Regions from separate parts of the Homo sapiens genome. Here regions 1, 2, 3, 5, 6 and 7 are each linked to region 4. The links are contacts of gene promoters, found by promoter capture Hi-C in blood cells and fetal thymus (Javierre and others, 2016). All regions are on one chromosome and are shown on one strand. Each heading gives the region's core, a stretch centred on a gene start or on the middle of the fragment in contact. The rest is flanking DNA. Distances are from core to core; before and after follow the strand shown.

Region 1 (3,044 bases), core at 490-2,989, 500 kb after region 4:
TGCAATCTCTGCCTCCCAGGCTGAGGAAATCCTCCCACCTCAGCCTCCCAAGTAGCTGGGACTACAGGCGCACACCACTATGCCTGGCCAATAAAACTTTTCGTTTAATTAGTAGAGGAAAAGGGGGATTATTCAGTAAATGGACTTAAGACAACTGAGTATCCATCTAGGGAAAAAACTGAATACCTTACACCAATATTTACAAAAGATTAAAGATCATGGCGTAAAGTAATAAAAGTATACATCTACTGTAAGATCTTTACAAGAATCATATAACGATTGAACTTTCTCCTCCAGTTACAATGATATACTCATTATATGCTTAAAATCTCCCACACTTTACCATCTGGAGTATAATCAATTTCTAATATACATACTCAAGACTCAGGTATGATGAGAAAGAAAAAATACTTGGAGTTACACATTGAGTTTGGGTCCTACTTGTGCCATTTACATACTATATGAGCATGAGCAAGTAACTGTAAATTTCATTTCTTCATCTGAAAAAAGAGGTTAAATACCATCTCACTCATAGGGTTGTGGTGTGGAATCAAATGAAATAATCTATGTAAAGTGCCTAGTATGTTTTCTAACAGGTCATCATAAACATTATTTTTTAATTTGCCCTTCTCTAGAAAGTATTCCCCAATTATTCCAAGCTGTTAAAACCTTTACCTCTTAAGATACTATTTATATCACTCATTTGAGAAAAAAAAACTTCCTTTTGACTTTTTATTGCTGTCTTCAACTACAGTATTTAAGCCTTTACATTTTCAGGTATTTCTGTACTATCTACTAATGTAAATTATCTTATCTTTGTTTTGTTTTGAATTTATTTTTTATTATTTTTTGTAGAGACAGGGTCTCATTATGTTGCTGGTCTCGAACTCCTGGGCTTAGGAAATTGAGGCTGCAGTGAGCTGTCATCATACCACTGCACTACAGCCTGGGTGACAGAGCAAGATGCTGTCTCAAAAAAAAAACTTCCTGGGCTCAAGTGATCCTCCTGCATTGGCCTCCCACAGTGCTGAGTTTACAGGTGTAAGCCACTGCATTCGGCCTTAAATTATCTGTAACTACACTGTATGTATCTGTAATTATGCACACCTTTCACTTTTTGGTACTCCTTAATCTAATAGCACATTTTTGTTAGGTTTTTTTTTTTTTAAGCTTGGTGGCAAGTTGTTATTTTTGAGAAAAAGTCTCCCTCTGTCACCCAGGCTGGAGTGCAGTGGCATAATCAGCTCACTGCAGCCTCAAACTCCTGAATTCAAGCAATCCTCCCTCCTTGGCCCCTCAAAGTACTGGGACTACAGGCATGAGTTACTGAGCCCAGCCTAGCACATTTGTACAAACTTTTATTTTCAATTAAATGCTTTTTTTTTTTTAAGGCAGAGTCTCACTCTGTTGCCCAGGTTGGAGTGCAGTGGCGTGATCTCAGCTCACTGCAACCTCCACCTCCTGGGTTCTACAGGTGTGCGCCACCACGCCCATATAATTTTTTGTATTTTTAGTAGAGGTGGGGTTTCGCCATGTTGCCCAGGCTGGTCTCAAACTCGTGAGCTCATGCAATCCACCCGCCTCGGCCTCCCAAAGTGCTGGGATTACAGGCATGAGCCACGGCACCCGGCTGATTGCCTCCACTTTTCCAATGAGGAAACTGAGACCTCAGAGATGCCAGATGACAGTACAGTGAGTGCAGGCCCAAGAAACAGGGGCTCCTCTACCCCCTCAGCAGATACTCACACCATCCTTTTCTTTATCGGATTGTGGAATGAGCATAGACTTTTAACAAATACTGACCATGAGGTCTGTTTCAGCCAGTTGCCAACTACTAACCTTCAACAGTATACTTAAGTCTCAGTTTCTTCCTCTGTAACACTAAAACAGTAGCATCTACTTTCCAAGGTTGTTGTGTTAATTCAGTATACTGGCATGCCCAGTTGATATTAGGTGCCAAATCTACTTATTTATTTGCAAAAAGTAGCCTGCTTTTTCTGATGAAACACTAATATGCTCTTTGTAATAGAGTGTGTTAGGAAAAACTTTCCATGTAGGTTTTTCTCTTTTTAATTTTAAAATAAATGATAAAAAGGTAGGCTGGAATATTTTACACATCTGTTATAAAACCCACAGAAGCTGTCTGTAAAACAAGACTCAAATCCAAAGCAGGTGGACAAGACATACTGTCTGTTTGAAGAGCTGGAACTCCCTCGAAAGTTCACAAACCAAGGAAAAAGTCAAACTGTCAGAAAACAGCAATTAATGACTATAAACACTGTGCTTCCTGCCCTTATGATAAAGCTTCTGTGGAGACAGTCATGAAGAGAACAAGTTCAAATTCTCAATTCTCTACCTAACTCCGAAGCTCCATAAGGCATTTCAGGTTATTATCTCATTTGTTTAACCACACAACTGTTAGAAGTTCAACTGTCCCTCCCAACCCCCACCACATTCCTATGCTGAAGTCTTAATCCCCTGTACCTTGGAATGTGACCTCATTTGAATATAGAGTCACTGCAGATATAATTAAAGATGAGGTCATTAGGGCAGTCCTAATCCAGTATGACTGGTGACATTATAAAAAAGGGAAATTTGAACACAGATGCACACAAAGGGAAAACATCAAGTAAAGATGACAGGAGTGATTGGGAAGATGTTTCTACAAGCCAAGAAATGTCCAAGATTGTCAGCAAACCAAAAGCTAAGGGGAAAGACATGGAACAGATTATCCTCCACAGCCCTCAGAAGAAGGCAATCCAGCCAACACCTTGATCTTAGACTTTCAGCCTCCAAACCTGAGACAATAAATTTCTGTTGTGTAAGCTCCCCGCCCCCGAAAACATACAATAGAGCCACATAATAAAAGATTAAATATAGATTAAACTAAAAATACAGGTTAATAAAAATATTTCAGTCAAACATTAAGCTCAGACATTTTGAAACAGACAAGATAAAAAAAGGGAAAATGGAAGTTTAAAAATTGCTTGCTTAGTAAAATAACAAATACCAATTTGTTTGAGCAAAAACCATTTTTCCTAGTA
Region 2 (2,700 bases), core at 110-2,609, 380 kb after region 4:
AGGATCCAGACAACCACTGGCTTCTAGTGCTGTCACAAGTAGGACATTTATGCCAGTGTAACAAAGAACAGGTGGGCAATCCCACCCTCCATCCCCCAATTCATACCCCAGGGCTGGTCCAAAAAGAAACTGGATCATCCAGGGCTACACAGAAAGATCAGAATGGGCAGCTGTAAGCTAAAAGAGACTGTTGATTAGCACCTCTTCTCTAATATAGCTCATAACTGTAATAAAGGTCGTGGTTGCCCACCCTCTGGGATCTCCCAATAGTAGCTATATCTTACGGAGAAGTCCTTCTGTTGTGACAGTAGTCCACACAATGGGTTTCTCTTAAGCCAAATTCATCTCAAATCGATACTCAAGGATTCTCTGGAGCGTTAAGATACTGGAGTGTAAGCATGGGGGTCTCCACACAAATGCTTTCCAGAATGGGTATTTTGGCCAGAGTACATGACTGGATTGCACCTGAGGCTTACTCATGATGGCTTTCACACTCTCTAGAGCAGCACTATCCAACAGAACTCCAAGATGAGGGAAATATTCTATGTCTGTGCTGTCCAATTATATTAGCCAGTAATTACATGTGGCTGCTGAGCTCTTGAAATGTGACTAGTGTAATTGAAGAAGTAAGCTTTAAATTTCAATTAATATCAATGTAAAAGGTCACATGTAGCTAGTGGATACCAACAAACTTCTACTGGGTGCCCTTTAACCAAATGTTTAAAACATCAATAACTAATTTAAACACACTGGTTTATCAATTTATCTAAGAAATATTTACTTTGCAATAAAAATAAAGACATAAAGTTTCTGTTTTGCTTGATTTTAAATAGTGGGAACCAAAACAATCACTTAAAACAAAAAAAGCTCTGTCTTATCGCAAATAATCATTCTGTACAATTTATCATATATTAAAACTTACAAAATCAGATTCTTCAGGTCAGAGGAATAGTTGATTGTCACCAGTTCCATGGCTTTCTGTAAATTCTCTCGCTGAATTCCTGCCAAAGAGTTGCAAGCCAAAGCCAACACAACTTTTCCTAATGATATCAGATCTGCTTGCTGACATGAAAGAATAAATATAACTTTTAATTTTCATTTCACAGGTACTCATTTAATACACTGACACTACTGCCTAAATGGAAAAAGCATCATTATAAATAAGCTGCAGGCAGGGTCCTCAAATACTGGTGATTCTCAGAATAACCTGGAGCTTATTAAAAAGACGACTTCGAGCCTCTCTACCAGAGATTCTCATTGGGTGGGTCCAGAAAATGGCTCAACATTTTTAAAGCACCCAGGTAATTCTGATGAAGGTAGTTCTAGGTCCACGCCTTAAGAGACTTTAAGCAATTCCCATGCCAACTACAAATTGCCACTTTTAAAAAGTTTTTCTAATTTTTTCTTATTTAAATAGAGGTAATATTCTTCTCTATTACAACAAATTTAAGGTTACTATACATTTGCTTTGCTATGACCACTATAACTTAACATACATACTTTGCTCATTTTCTGTAACTCCCAGAATATAGTGGGAATGTGAAGGATTATCTGAAGAAAAGTTATCCTATTACAAACATTAGCATTAACCAGATTTTAGAGCAAATTCTCTAGAACATCAAAAATGCTGCAAACCTCAATGAATGACATCCCATCTATCTTTGTTTCCAAATAGACTATTTTTCCTCACACTCTAACAGATCTTTGAGCTCTGGAACCACCACCTGCTTTCCTAAAACCTCTCCCACTCAAGATTTACCATTCTGAGGCTTTCCTTCTAAAAGGATTTTCAAAAGACAGCTGGCTGAATTAAGTCCTTTATCACCTATTATAACTCCAGGAAACAGTATGGTCATCCCAAGTGGCCCTGATTGGTAGGAAGCTATTAACAACCACATGCCTTCAAGAATGGAGTACTTCAGAGTTAACATGAAACCACCTGAAGCAATTTCTACAACAGACATTTGCAGATCTTTAAAATCTGAGAACTCATCTAAATTATTAGACACACGTTCATTTACTGAACATTCGTTTATTATAAGGAATTTTCAAGCATAGCTGTATATTACCATCACTTGAGAAGCTTAAAAACAAAACCAAAATCAGCAGTAGCCATCCCCTCGTCCCAATTTTGGTATAATTAGTCTGGGATAAAAATCTAGGTATTGGTATTTTTCTAAGCTTCCACAAATGATGGTAATATGCAGCCAGGATTGAGAACCACTGGTTTGTTGGAATATTTGTAACTTTAAGGCAATCATTAGTGAAATTCTAGCATTATATGGTTATACTTAACAACAGCCTACCCAAATAATGAGTAAAAAGACGTTAAACTCCATTACTAAAATAACATTTAAAAGTTCATACTAAAAAATTTATCCAAAACTAGCATTTGTGAATCTGACACTGAACATGAGATAAGGAGACAGACTGATTAGGTAGACAAACTACTTTGAATCTATTAGAAAAGATTCAAAGATTCATCCCAGAAAACTTTTAAAACTTCACTGGTGATAGAGTCAGGAGCCCAGAATGGCAGGAGGGAAGCTGGCATGGGAAGGAGAACTATTACTGTTGCCATCATTTCTGTTTGCTGGAGGACACTGTGATGAACTCCAAAAAGAATTCCTCTCAATCACACTTTAGATCAAGTAAAACATTCCAAGTTATATTCATGAAATTACAGAAATCTCAGCCAAA
Region 3 (2,934 bases), core at 115-2,614, 400 kb after region 4:
CCTGGGTTCTGTATTCAAGGATTCGACCAACCATGGGTAGGAAATATTCAGGGGAAAAAAATGACAATACAACAAATGAGAAGTAATACAAATTAAAAATACATTATAACAACTATTCACAAAGCACTTATACTGCATTAGGTATTATAAGTAATCTAGAGATAATTTAAAGTATACAGGAGGATGTGTATAAGATCTATGCAAATACTATGTCATTCTATATCAGGGACTTGAGCACCCAGGAATTTTGCTATCTGTGGGCGTCCGGGAATCAATCCCCCTTGGATACTAAATGGCAACTATACAAGCAGTTCATCGCCACTTTTTGAAAGCAACTGGAAGGAAGGAAGGAGAAACTAAAGGTGTTTGGGTACTGGGAGATAAGGAAGTGATATTGCCCTGGCTGCCCAAAGAATTTCCCCTTTCACAGGCATTTTGTGGCCAAACTAAACAAAGTGTTATTCAAACCTACTCTAGGTCAGCAGTTTAAGTGAACAGAAGGATACAATAATACATTTACCTTCCAAGCAAACTACAATAAAGTTACTAAATCAGCTTCCAGCTTCTTGTCTTTCATTCTTTCAACTGGACTCATCCCACCACCCTTTGTTCTCTTTATCACTCTTTTCTCTGCCTCTCCTTCACTGGTCCATGATACAAAATCAAAGTTCAGTTTTAAATATCTTTTCTATTTTTTCATTCTTTCATTTTAAACAATGAAACCTTTTTTCTCTTTTAAAAACGAATTCAGCTGATTTGCGCTGCCCTAACATGACTGCTCTGCTCTGCATCTCAACTAGGAAGCAGTTTTGTGATACTTGTAAGGTTTCCTTTAGCCTGTGTCTGCAGGGAGAATAATATCTCTTTTTTCTTGTGTTGGTTTCCTTACATAAGATAGCATAGTTTAGGCTGGGCATGGTGGCTCACGCCTGTAATCCCGGCACTTCAGAGGCCAAGGTGGGCGGATCATTTGAGGTCAAGAATTTGAGATCAGCCTGGCCAACTGATCAACTGGGTGAAACCTCATCTCTATTAAAGATACAAAAGTTAGCCAGGCATGGTGGTGTGCGTCTGTAGTCCCAGCTACTAGAGGCTGAGGTGAGAGGAATGCTTGAACCCAGGAGGCGGAGGCTGCAGTGAACAAAGACTGAACCACTGCCCTCCAGCCTGGGTGAAATAGCGAACATCCATCTCAAAAAATATATATATTTATATAATTTTATATATTAATTATATATTATATATAATTTATATATAATATATAATTAATTATATATTATATATAATTTATATATAATATATATTAATTATATATAATATATATAATATATATTTATATAATTTAATAACTTTACATATATATAAAATATATATGTATTTTACAATATATTTATAGTTTACAATAGGGTTCATGTTCCTATGGAATCTAATGCCTCTGCTGATCTGACAGGAGGAGGAGCTCAGATGGTAATGAGAGCAATGGGGAGTGGGTGTAAATACGGATGAAACTTCACTTACTCGCCCACTGCTCACCTCCTGCTGTGCGGCCTGGTTCCTAACACTGGTCTCTGGTCCAAGGATTGAGGACCCCTGTTTTAGTGGACTCTGACTTTCTCACTCACTTCATCTACTACTTATTTTTCTAGGGTAAATAAAATAATTTTTGAATATGGATGAAGTAATGAAGCTAAAAAAGGTACAATTTACGTAACATGGAATCCTTCCCTCTCCTTCCCCATTCATTCTCGCCCCCTGACTCCTGTTCCTTCTCCCTCTCCTGGAACATTACTAATTGACTCTGATAAGAAATCTTTCTTTCTGGCCATGTTCTTCCTCTTTTGGTCTTAATATTCATGTTTCCTCTGGGGCCACCTCTTCCCATTTGTTTCACGATTCTTCCCTCACTTCATCGCCAGTCCTTTGGTAGCTCTTTCGTCATCTACAATCATGGCTCTCTTGGGTCTGACTACTCTATCTCCTGAGCATAAGAGCCATACTGCAGGCCCCTTATCATTATGTGTCACTCCACCATCCACAGATCTAGCTGTTAAATAACTACCTCATCTGAAATAAGGGTTTATCATTGATTTGCTTCCAGTAACTACTGAGGACATACCATCTACTTTTTCTAGCTTCTTACTGAGGTTAAACTATCTATACCTATAAACAAATGTCAGCAGGCATCAATTCCAGCTAGTACAAGGTAAACCCATAAGCAAAACATGCCATAAAGACTAAAATAAGAGCATGGATATAATCTAATTTCTGATTAAACCAGTTTAGTCCAAAACTAGAATTATTAGTAAGGCAGAACTAGATTAATTTGAAGAGTTGAGAAGAAGAGACTAGACTTCTCATCTAAGTTAGAAAATGAAATACTTTTTTGCATCACAATAAAAAGCTGCAGGAGGGGGTAGACCGCCTCACAACTAAGAAGGTCCTGTTACAAGAGAGTACTAAAATTTCCTCTTTAATGTAGACATACCATTCCAGTCAAAGGTGCTGGAGTTGTGTCTGTATAGAAGTAAGTCGTCCCACCAACAGTTTCCTTTTGGATCACCTGACCAGAAGACGGAGTCTGAGAAACAGGATTATTAACAGATGTAGAGGCACTAGAAGGCACCATGTAACTTGCTGGATTTGGAGTGTGACTTCTTCTTCTGGGAGCAGGAGAAGTATGTGGAGTAATCTTGGGGGAATGAAGAGGGGAAGACCCAGCAGACAACGACATTCCTGAAGAAGATGTAAAAATGTTTCTTAATGGAGCAATAATTGGTTTTAGAGAACAAGTCTGGAAAATAAAATGCAAACATTCATTTGGAAGAAACATCATCTTTGGGATCGTAAGTGCAAAGATGAAGGAAATAATTTTATCTTGTTTTGTTGTAGAAAAAGCTCTGATTAAAGCAAATGTAAAGTTTCTTTTTTCAAATG
Region 4 (2,885 bases), core at 19-2,518:
TACTTTATTAAAAAGTACTGGGTATCTCATGTAATTTATTGAATACTGTACTGAAAGTGAAAAACAGAATGGCTGTATTGGTACTCAAATATGGCCTCTACTGACTGTGTATGGATTTCACACCATCATAAAGTCAGAAGATTGTTGAACCACCAGAAGTTGGGGACCTTCAGCAGAGATGTGTGATTGTTGCTTTCCAAATGTATCTTCTATTACTTCCCTATATGAACATTCTCCTCCTTCTGGACTGCTTTATTGTAAAGTAACAAGGTTTCAACGCACAAAGAAAAGGTGAATTCTGACTTCTGGATTCTGTTATTGTCATTTTTCCCAATTTCCTTCTGTAAAATATCAAGATTAGTACTTGCTGTTTCTAATAAAGGAAGGAGCCGAGAAAGGCAAATCTACGAAAACCTAACTACTAGTTACATTTGAGAGTGCCTAAAAAACTTTTTAGATAACGATTAGCAGTATTTACCAATAGAAACTTTCTAGATTTGGATGGATGGCCTACCAGCAGTACCGATATCAGAGTCTGTGGCAATGGTGACTCAGTGTTCTTCTCAAATACCACAACTTCTAAGTTAAAAAGAAAGAGAAAGTGGTGGGGAGGAGAAGGAGGGAGGAGATATACTAACAATACTGGCAAACAGGGAATAGCAACTGTCTGATTTTTTCCCCTCTAACATCTAGCACACTACAAGCTCTCAAAAAAGTTTGTAGAGCAAAGCTGCGTTACACAAATGCGACCTATAGTTGTGGGCTGTTTACTAGGCAGTTACAAGGGCGGGGGCTGGGGGAGATGAGGAGTCTGAGAGCTCTGGGCTCCCAGAGGTTACCCGTCAAGGAAAGGGTCGCCAGCGCCACCCCACAGAACGTTGCACTTTCACGGCTGCCTTTTCCACTTCTGCGCCAAGTAAGGGGAGGAGGTCTGGGCCTGCTGGGGTCTAAGGGATGGAAGGGCGCAAACCGAGCTAAGAGGAGCAGGATGAAGCCGAAGCACTGCTAGTGGGACTAGTGCCGGGCCCCGGCGACAGTCACGACCCACCCAAACCCCGTGACTCGACAGATTATGGCGCCTGAGGCCGGCCTCAGCCCCACGCTGCCGCCGCCGCCGCCACCGGGGACGGGTTGGGAGGCGACTGCCTGTTTCTGCCGAGCCACGGTCCCGAGCCCGCGTGGAACTCCAGCCGCCCGGGTACCCACTCACCATCTTCCGCAGCTCTGCGAACAGCCTCTCTGCCCCGTTACCGTCAGTCGACCCCGCCGCTCACTTCCGTTTCCGAGGGCTGGCCCCCACATCCGCCGGAAGTGCGTCCGTCCTGGCGAGGAAGGAAGGAGGGCGCGGGACGCCGGAGGGAGCTGCGCGGGGCCGAGGCTCCCACGCTTGCAATCCCAAGGGACCCAGGGCCAAGGGCGCAGTAAGGGTGTGGGCTGGGAGGAGGGAGGGGTCGGGACGAGACGTGCCTGAGGGGAGGGAAGACACGGACTCCGGTTTATTAATAAACATCTACGGTTTGTACGGCATTTTAAGATGTGCAGTGTGCTTTTGTAGGTACATCGCCTTATTTAACACAAAACCTCTCTGAGGTAGCTATTACATTTCACAGAAGGGTAAACGAGGCGTAGGTGGTTTGAGTGATTTGCTTGAGATCGTTCGGCTAATAAAGCAAAATTGGGACACAAGGCTTTTGTCATTTTTAAAAAACATAATATTGAAGGCCTGGTATGTTCCGAACCCTGTGCTGAGGCTAGGAATACAAAAAAGGACCAGGCCGGTGTGGCCTCTGGGCTAGAGGAGCAGGGGTACTCCGGAGGCTAGAGGGGAGAGAGGGGACGATAGTGACTACAAATTAAGTAAATGTGATCATGACCGACATATGTTGGGCCCTTTGAATTGCGTTATCAACACAGTTCTAAGTGCTTACATCCTTTATCTCTTTTAATCTTTTCAATAACCTTACAAGTACAATTTACAGGTGAAGAAACCGAGACATGAAGGGCTTAAATAAATATGCCTAAGGACATATTTATGAGTCTAGAATCCATGCTCATTACACTATTCTGTATTGTTCAAATATAATGTAATAAAACGGCCTTATAGTCTGCTGCCACAGGATGGAGACATCTTAGGGAATCTTTGGACTGACAGCTAAAAGATAAGAGCGAACTAGTTTGGGGTAGTAGGATATTTAAAACAACATTACGTGCAGATCTGCTTGTGCAAAAACGGAACTGGAAAGAAGGCCTAAGTCTGGCTAAAGTTCAGAAAGTAAAGTGGAGAGTACTGTGAGATGAGGTTGTAAGTAGATGGAGGCAAGTGGTTTTTGTTGTTGTTTTTGTTTGTTTGTTCTAAATAATGATAGGGTTTAGCTATGTTGCCCAGGTCTGCGTTGAACTCCTGGGCTCAAGCGATTCTCCTGCTGCAGCCGGCTGAGTAATGGGAACTACAGGCGTGCATCATGGGACCTAGCTACAGGTTTTTTATGCAGCCTTTGTAGGCAAGATTAAGGATGAGGCTTTGTCTTTAAAAAGCCATCGAAGGATTTGAGAGAGGAAAATGATAAGGCCATATATGTTATGTATATCCACTGCCATGGTCATACAACTTTGAAGTTCCAGATGTTATGTGTTCTGCCATGCTGTCCTTTAGGTGTCTTCTGGTCCTTCACAATAGCCATGTTTAATCCTGAGATTTGAGTTGGAGTGTTTCGTTTGCATCTTTTTTTCTTTCCGTCAATTCCACCTGAGAAATTGTAAAACTGCGAATCTTTTCTTAAAAATCATTTTAACATTTGCTGATTGCTCACAGTTCAATGAATATGTATTGAACATTTGCTTGGTACTAGATTCTGGAGCTATAAAGAAGAAAAGAGCAATTCCCT
Region 5 (2,704 bases), core at 122-2,621, 430 kb after region 4:
TTCAAAGTACTCTAAAAAGATTTATTTATTTATTTATTTTCATTTTCAGAGACAGGGTCTCACTGTGCTGCCCAGGCTGGAGATCAATTGTGTGATCATAGCTCACTCCAGCCTTGAACTCCTGAGCTCAATCAATCCTCCCGCCTCAAGCTCCCAAGTAGCTGGGACTACAGGTGTGTGCCACCATACCTGCCTATGGTTGTTGTTTATTTGTTTTGAGACCAGGTCATGCTGTGTTGCCTAGACTTATTTTTACATGTAAATCACCTTTAATAGAGGCCATGTGGATCTAACCCAAATAATTGCAACTTAATTTCCATCTCTGATTTTCCCCTTAATAACTACAGAATTTCATCAACTAATTTATATAATCCTACTTCATTTTGGCTGAATATCTATCTATGATAGATACTTAAGACTATCTGGTATTAGAAATACTGTAAGCATTAACAAAATAATTAAGTACCTTAAAGCTTTCTCATAAAATGTATTTAATCTTATTGACCAAACTCAGGCACATAATGTCAATTTATATGATGAATTTAACCTGAGCTTTATCAAACACACAGTCCTCAATATTTGATAGAGATCACAGCCTGCACAACTACTTTGTTTTCCTGGTCTACACATAGTAATCTTCCCTTTGACATAACTTCAGTCTTGCCTGTATTAATGGTGTCATTTCTAGATGAACTGTCATTAATTAATTTAACAAATATCATTAGACTATTGATTGTATAAAGTGCAGTGCCTAAATCCCAAAAACATGAATAATTCAACATATTTTAAAAAACCAGCATCAGGGTTTTAACTATACTAGTAGGAATCTTACCCACTGGCCTATAATAGTAGGTTACTTACTTCGGTCTCTATGTTTGAAGAAACAAAACAGTAACCTACCTGCTTGTCCCCAAACTTGGCCAAATGATCTAAAATGATGGGATCTCCCTAGACTCTACAATGGTGGCAATCTTTTAAATAATAACACTTACTTAAACGAAGCATCAAAACAGAGGGAAGAAAGGTGTTAGCTACTAAATATAACTGTTTTGGTTGAAAAGAACCATTTTTTTCTTCTTGAGTGGTAGTGACTGTTTGAGTAAATGGTGTCCTTCATTCATAGTGATAAATTGTGTTGTGTTGTTTACAAACAAGAAACTTAAAGACAAGAGTGTCTTATGAAAATTAATTACAAAAATTCACACAAAAAAGTAAGATTTAGTTAACAATGTAATTTTAATTTTGGATTTCTTTCCAATGAAAAAAGCTACCACCAAAGTACAAACAAAAATTAAAGTTGATCTCCAGAAAACTGTGGTTGAATCAATAAGTGCCTCTTATTTATCTAACATTAACAACAATTTAGTTGTTTTCTCTTATTTTCTCTTTCTTTTTTTGCCAGGACATGTTCTCATGTGAACAATTTAGTTGATTTTTTTGTAACAATTTAAAAACATACATATTAAAGTGTAACATGTAAATAAAAGATATCTGATTACTAGTTCCAGAACCATAGGGTTGTTTTTTTTTTCCATCCATGGAACTCTGCTTGAGGGTTTTATATTTTAAACAGCCACAGTACTTATGCTACTCATTTCCTAAGTATTTTGAAAAACTAAAAGTTATAGTAACTAATTTATATTTTGTCTCACTAACATTACCAAGGTGGAAGGAATCCGTTTCCCAGATTTATTCATGACTAAGCATCGGCAACTCCTATATTCATGAATTCAACAATAACTCTAGTTATTCAGAACACAGACATTAACCAGAAATGAAGTGATACTAGCCTCAGCCAAAGGATAATATAAAGCTCATGTACCTTATTCACAGGAAACAATTCAAGTCCTTGACTCAAAGCCTTTTTCTCATTTAAAAAAAAAGAAAAAAAAAAAGAGGTACTAAAAGATATCTTTGTGTTCTTAGCTCTCAGCAGATTAGGAGGAGGATGAGAAAGGGAGATTAAGAGGAAAGAGGAGATAAGAATGACAAAAGTTCTAAATCGAGCAGTCATTCTCAAAATGAAGTCCCAGGACAAGCAGCAGCATCAGCAACACCTGGGAACACATCAGAAAAGCAAATCTTCCCTGGTTCACCCAGAGCTACTAAATCAGAAACTCTGGGGATGGAACCACGCAAATGCTGGAGTTTAACAAGCCTCTAGGTGATTCTGGTAGACTGAAATTTGAGAATCACTGTCACAAACAGCACAACAGAATTACCAATAAAAAAGCCAATAAAAACAAAAAAAATGATCAAAGTAAGCTTGCCAGATTATGGCCATTCAAGGCACTACTTTCAGGCACTTTAAGAGACTCAGAAGCAAGAGAAAGACCTTACCTTCAAAAAGTTATAACTAATTCATTGGAGCAGAAGACCAGTGGAAAGAATAACAAATCTAAGTAATCACATAACTTGAAATAAACTCCTCTACAAACTTGGATATGTAAAGAGTCAGTGTATTCTGGTTCAATACAATTACTGAGGCACATATAGTTGAACAAGAGTCATCAATAAATAAGATTATATTTTGTTTTAAGCCAGAGAGTACTATGGAAAAATTTTGGAAAATATAAAGTTCTGACAATTAAAACTGTAAGCTTCTGATACCCAAAAAATTCAAGTATGCTGGAAAGATTCATTTCCCCTGACGCTAGATAAATCAGTTATTGCAGCTGCTTTGGTGATATTTTTAAAGTCATTA
Region 6 (2,700 bases), core at 122-2,621, 360 kb after region 4:
CCTCTTTTGAGGGTAAAAGCCAAAATACTTAAAATGGTCCACAGGACACACCCCTTCCCTATAGACCTTTCTGACGTCACTTCCTACTTAACTTGGCTCTAGCCACATTCGCTCCCCTGCTGTTCCGCAAAGGCTCTGAAACATTCCCTTACCTGGAATACTTTACCACCAGACATACACATGGCAGACCCCTTATGCTTTCTCGTGAGTAGTCTTCTCTCCTAAACTACATTGTTAGTCATGTATTGTATTAAGATGTTTGGGTATAACTATACATTCTGTAAATACCAAGTCCCTGTATCTGTCTTAGTGCCTAGAACAGATCCAAGGACACAGTAGATAAGACTTAAGGACTACCTGATAAATTAATGAATAAATCTGCTGCCATTTCATCCAAATACAAAAATTCCTCCAAAATACAGAGGAAATAACCAATCTTTTAAAATCCAATCATAAGATAATCATCATCTTGTTATATGAACACGTGCAAGAAAAGGACAAATTTATCTCTGTAATTCTTTATTAAAAATACTGCTGTACACATAGAGACTGAAAACAGGATTAAAGATGAATAACACAAATTGGGTCATGACATTAGAACCTAACACACTGGTGCTTTTTAGGGAAGTTGTTGACATCCAAATCACAGAACCAAGGTCAAAAGCAAAATACAAAGGTACCCTCAAAAATATTTACAATGAAGTAAATACACTAACAGAATTTAAAACAGGTACAAAATATTGAAATGACCAACGTTACATGATTTCAAGGGTTGTCCTTTCTGTGCTTTTATCTGTCACGACAGGAAGGTGTGGAAAGTTTATATCCTTAATTTGACTACTCTTGGATATTAAAATCTTTCTATTAATTAAAAAGACTTTTAGACAACCTCTTAAATGGAATTACACTATGGAAAACAGGGCTCCCCCAAAAACACCTAGGCAGAACTGAGAGTTCTTTGAAAACCATTCCCAATAAAAACTAAATGAAAAATAAATATAAAACAAAGCTTAAAAAAATATGCATTACCTGACACCAACCTTTTCTGGCTGACAATATTTATTCATGAAAACATATCAGCTGTCTACCTTTTATATGCAAACCAAGTCCTGAGGTTAACTAGGGGCTGAAGCAAACTAGCATTTAGGATGCAAACATTCTTGGATTTGTGATGTAAACTTGCCTTGCACAGGGAAGTTTGCTGGTCTATACAGAATGAGAAATTCAAGCCCTATTTTAACCCCTGCCCTCTTTAGCTTTCACAAAACATTGGTCCACAAATTAAATTTTCAAAAAGTTCCCAGACCCCAAAACTAAAATAGATGATCCCCTTTCATTTTCAAAGAAAACAATATTGGAAAAAATCTCCAGCCCGCTTATAAATTAAGCATTTCATATTTCTTCTAGAATACAAGTAGTTCTTTTTTGTACAAAAGAATACAATATGATTTGTCAAAAAACATATAAAAAGACAGCTGCTCTTCCTCAAATACATGAGCTAATGATAAAAGACTTTTTCATGTTAATGTCTCCAAGTTCTTCTTTTTACATAAAAAAGAACATTATGGTGGCAAATGTGAATTATCCTTTTAATATTGAACATTATATTCTTTTAAAATCCATCCAGATCAAATGCAATAATTTTCTTTTTAACTCAACAACTGATGCTACCAAACGTGGACTCAATATACTTGTTAAAACGTGTAAAGCGTGTCTCTAGTCTTCAAAGCTTTCAGGTGAAGAGAGGTGCTTTTTCTTGATGCAAATCTCAAGGCAGAGAAAATCATTTTAAAGCTTATAAAAAGTGGACAGAGAAATATTAAAAACTTCTCTGAAATATACAAATATGTGTAATTATTAAAATTGAAGACAGTAACATCAGTTGCAAGTGCTTGGAAGTCTGTCCTGACCTTTTGAGTTTCCACATTTTCTTCAGTTGCATGGTGAGCACCCAGTGCTAGTAAAACATTCAGTGCTGGGAAAGGAGATATAGTCTTCATTACTGTTTTTTAAGAAAGAAAATTCCTATGTATTTGGCAGTCTTCAGTATCAAAGTATAGGTATTTCATTTACTAGAAATTCCATGAATACCCAAGTTTGGCGACAACTGCATGTCCAAATATTAAGAAAGTTAAGAGGAGGAAAATCCCAAACTTTTGAGATGGACTTATTCAGGAATATCGCACAGAGTGAGTTATTATCAAAAGTACTATTACTTTGGGCTAAGCAGTGACTGCAAAGGCACAGCAGATCGTTATCCCTCCAAATTCAGGCTGTAAAACATCAGAAAGCTCTTGATACCAGACCACTGCTGAGTTTAGTTCATCTTCTGAACAGTGTCTCTGTGTCTGTCTCCAGTGTAAAGGACCATAATAAAGCTGTGGTTCAAAGAGCAAAACTTCATAAACCTCCCCCCCGCCCAAAAAAAAAAAAAAAAAAAAAAAAAAAAACCAGCAAACTGGAAAGAACCTAAAGTAATACACTCCTGAACTTTAGGCCTTTAACACAATTTCTTAATTTTCTCCTATTTAAAAAATTTGCATAAATGTAAATGTATCTGACTAGCAGGCAAATGTCTTTTTAAAAAGGCTCTAGTTGAATTTGAAGGAAAGAGCTATACATGCTCCTTCAGTTACTGTTTATCTGATCTTTATTCAGAAAGGATTTAAATCAACTAACAGGGAATTCATATCCAACAAT
Region 7 (3,040 bases), core at 3-2,502, 460 kb after region 4:
GCCTCAGCCTCTCGAGTAGCTGGGATTGCAGGTGCTCCCCACCACACCTGGCTAAAATTTTTCTTTTCTTTTCTGTATATTTGTAGAGACGGGGTTTCACCATGTTGGCCAGGCTGGTCTTAAACTTCTGACCTCAGGTGATACGCCTTCCTCGGCCTCCCAGAGTGCTGGGATTACAGGCGTGCACCACCATGCCCGGCCTTATATGACTCTTCAATGTAGTCCTATCCTGAATAACTCTTGGGTAGTAAAAATAATTGAACTCAAGTATTAACAAAATTGAAAACAGAAAAACTAAATTTAACTAAATATAGTAAAATATTCGGCCAGGAGAGGTGGCTCATGCCTGCAATCCCAGCATTTTGTGAGGCCAAGGCAGAGATCACCTGAGGTAGGAGTTCGAGACCAGCCTGGCCAACATGGCGAGACCCCATCTCTACTAAAAATACAAAAAATTAGCCAGGCATGGTGGTGTGCACCTGCAGTCCCAGCTACTTGAGAGGCTGAGGCATGGTATCTTGAATCTGGGAGGTGGAGGTTACAGTGAGGTAAGATGGTGCCACTGCACTCCAGCCTGGGGGACAGAGTGAGACTCTGTCTGAAAAAACAAAAAACAAACAAACAAAAGTAAAATATTCTACAAAGAGGAAAAGCTCAAAAAGCCACCAAGAAAAAATCATTTAGTTGGTTAAGGGTCACTAACTTTATTCTGATTAAAAATTTTTTTAATTACCTAAGTATACCAGCTAAGTCATCCAATCCTTTCACAACCACCACCCCAAACAGACACAGAAAGCAGCCAAGACATTCACTTTCAAGAAATGTCTAATAAAAATTATTTTTACCTGTAAATTGTTTTCTGTGACTCTGTTCCACCAAACCATATTGATGGGTACTCCTGATTTACACCTGTCAGCAAGGCAGCCAATAGGGTTCTTTGCTTTTCGTGCCTTTGATCCCATCGGAACTAGCCTCTCCTCCAGCATCCCCAGGCGATACTTCCTTGGCTAGGAAAAAGAAGGAAAGAAACCAGGCCACTCCTAACATCCCCCACACTAATCTAAACTAACATAACTAACATATACAGGATACTGGGAACGGTGGGATAGGAAACAAGTTTCTAAAACACTCCTTCTAATATCCTTACCACCACCCACCACCTCCCACCCCTGCACCAAACCCACACCTCCAAAATAACCCACACTCCTAATGGGCTAAAGAATATTATATAAAGCAACAGATGTTTTTAGAAAAATACATTTAATCTGATTTTATACGACTTTACTTAATGAATAGAAATTTAACTTATCAGCAAAGAAAAATGCTTTGCAAAATTTTTTCTACTGTCACTTACCTATTCTCACTGCAATATGAAGAAATGGTTTCAAGGACACAGAATACAGATTTTTCTTTTTTATAAAGTTCGCCAAACTACAACTTTTTCAGCTCACCATCTTGTTACTTTATTTCCTACTGAGAACTAACCCACTTTTAAAAACGCAGTTGTTTCCTAATAAATTGATTTTTAAAAAATTTTAATTCTATGCACGTTAGACTTGAGTACAACTCACTCTATCTTAAATAGGCATTCACCCTAAAGTATTCAATGAAAAAAAAAAACCTCAGACTAAAAAACAACAACAAAACAGTAACACAAATTGGTCTTTTAAATCTCAATAATATGAACAGATTGATAATGAATAAATTATTCAATAAAATCATAAATTATTTGCCTAACATTATAAGAAAATTAATAAGCTATCTTAATAGTGGTTAGCAGGACTTTTATTCATGAAAATTAGTGCTTGTTTCCACTATCTCACTTCTCTTAATTACAGCAAATTTGCACTAGACTGCATCTTAAGGAAAACTTGTATGTATTTTTTCCCTTCAGAAAACACTAATTCATGCTTAGGAAGGTAATTAATTTAAACTCTGAAATAAGAAAATATATGTTTACTCATTGTTCTGTCATGAGGTATAAGACTGCTGAAACAAAGAGTTAAAATTAAGTTTCTTCAAAAAAAGATGCTGGCCAGGCATGGTGGCTCATGCCTGTAATCCCAGCACTTTGGAGGTTGATGCAGGAGGATCACTTGAGCCCAGGAGCTCCAGAACAGCCTGGGCAACATTGCAAGACCCTGTCTCTATTAAAAAAAAAAAAACAAAAAAAAACCTATAGCCAGTCAAATATATTAATAATGTTTTCTAGTATAAAGAGAACCAATTTAAAAAAGACATAATTTCCAAATTTCAAAATCTTGCAAATAATGCCTATGTAAATTATTCCATGCAAATTAGATTCTCCACTCCACAAGTGTGCATCTGCTATACTGTCTTTGATTTAAAGAGGACAAGGCTGGGTGCAGTGGCTCATGCCTTAATCCCAGCACTTTGGGAAGCCGAGGTGGTGGGTCACTTGAGGTCAGGAGTTCGAGACCAGCCCTAGCCAACATGGTGAAAGCCCATCTCTACCAAAAGTACAAAAATTAGCCAAGCATGGTGGCACATGTCTGTAATCCCAGCTACTTGGGAGACTGAGGCAGAAAAATCACTTGAGCCTGGAAGGCAAAGACTGCAGTGAGCCGAGATCATGACACTGCACTCCAGCCTGGGCCACAGAGTGAGACTCCATCCCAAATTTAAAAACAAACAAACAATAAAAAACAACAATAACAAAAAAAAACAAGGACAAAAATAACTAAACTTGCATTGAGAAAGGTAACTAGAATGCCTACTTACTCAATAATTATGGCAGTGGACAGAGTTTTGTTTCTTTTTTCTTTTTGAGACAGTGTCTCATTCTGTCGCCCAGGCTGGAATGCAGTGGTACAATCACAGCTCAGTGGCAACCTCTGCTTCAGGGGCTCAAACGACCCTCCCACCTCAGCCTCCCAAGTAGCTGGGACTACAGGCATGTGCCACCACGCCAGGCTAATTTTTGTATTTTTAGTAGAGATGGGGTTTCATTATGTCACCCAGGCTGGTCTGGAACTCCTGGACTCAAGCCATCCACCACCTCCCAAAGTGCTGGGATTAC

What was found. The method cuts DNA at HindIII sites, captures the fragments that hold promoters and counts their contacts. A CHiCAGO score of 5 or more calls a contact.
Region 1: a fragment that was not itself captured here is called in contact with the fragment with the promoter of POMP in region 4 in 1 of 17 cell types (fetal thymus); the score reaches 6.1 in fetal thymus.
Region 2: a fragment that was not itself captured here is called in contact with the fragment with the promoter of POMP in region 4 in 6 of 17 cell types (monocytes, megakaryocytes, total B cells and 3 more); the score reaches 10.4 in monocytes.
Region 3: a fragment that was not itself captured here is called in contact with the fragment with the promoter of POMP in region 4 in 1 of 17 cell types (monocytes); the score reaches 5.1 in monocytes.
Region 5: a fragment that was not itself captured here is called in contact with the fragment with the promoter of POMP in region 4 in 1 of 17 cell types (total B cells); the score reaches 5.3 in total B cells.
Region 6: a contact is called between a fragment that was not itself captured here and the fragment with the promoter of POMP in region 4, in 6 of 17 cell types (M0 macrophages, endothelial precursors, M1 macrophages and 3 more). The highest score is 7.6, in M0 macrophages.
Region 7: a contact is called between a fragment that was not itself captured here and the fragment with the promoter of POMP in region 4, in 1 of 17 cell types (fetal thymus). The highest score is 6.0, in fetal thymus.

What each region holds. Positions count from the first base shown.
Region 1 is chr13:28,160,991-28,164,034 of GRCh38, reverse strand. All of the region lies in intron 1 of PAN3 (poly(A) specific ribonuclease subunit PAN3), which reads right to left. Among named protein-coding and RNA genes, the nearest start is that of PAN3-AS1, 23 kb to the right of the region's middle. The HindIII fragment of the contact is 1,134 bases long and covers 1,173-2,306 here.
Region 2 is chr13:28,275,599-28,278,298 of GRCh38, reverse strand. PAN3 (poly(A) specific ribonuclease subunit PAN3) reads right to left here. Exons shown (of 19, transcript NM_175854.8): 15 at 923-1,062. Among named protein-coding and RNA genes, the nearest start is that of PAN3-AS1, 140 kb to the right of the region's middle. The HindIII fragment of the contact is 1,452 bases long and covers 634-2,085 here.
Region 3 is chr13:28,256,091-28,259,024 of GRCh38, reverse strand. PAN3 (poly(A) specific ribonuclease subunit PAN3) reads right to left here. Exons shown (of 19, transcript NM_175854.8): 7 at 2,486-2,733. Among named protein-coding and RNA genes, the nearest start is that of PAN3-AS1, 120 kb to the right of the region's middle. The HindIII fragment of the contact is 4,854 bases long and covers 1-2,934 here.
Region 4 is chr13:28,657,513-28,660,397 of GRCh38, reverse strand. It overlaps POMP (proteasome maturation protein), which reads right to left and starts at 1,268. Exons shown (of 6, transcript NM_015932.6): 1 at 1,211-1,268. The coding sequence starts at 1,213. RefSeq lists a silencer at 1,336-1,395 and an enhancer at 1,616-1,775. The HindIII fragment of the contact is 5,788 bases long and covers 1-2,885 here.
Region 5 is chr13:28,229,246-28,231,949 of GRCh38, reverse strand. The region is part of intron 6 of PAN3 (poly(A) specific ribonuclease subunit PAN3); the gene reads right to left. Among named protein-coding and RNA genes, the nearest start is that of PAN3-AS1, 91 kb to the right of the region's middle. The HindIII fragment of the contact is 1,792 bases long and covers 476-2,267 here.
Region 6 is chr13:28,293,138-28,295,837 of GRCh38, reverse strand. It overlaps PAN3 (poly(A) specific ribonuclease subunit PAN3), which reads right to left. Exons shown (of 19, transcript NM_175854.8): 19 at 503-2,700. Among named protein-coding and RNA genes, the nearest start is that of PAN3-AS1, 160 kb to the right of the region's middle. The HindIII fragment of the contact is 720 bases long and covers 1,012-1,731 here.
Region 7 is chr13:28,195,152-28,198,191 of GRCh38, reverse strand. It overlaps PAN3 (poly(A) specific ribonuclease subunit PAN3), which reads right to left. Exons shown (of 19, transcript NM_175854.8): 5 at 846-1,007. Among named protein-coding and RNA genes, the nearest start is that of PAN3-AS1, 57 kb to the right of the region's middle. The HindIII fragment of the contact is 7,528 bases long and covers 1-3,040 here.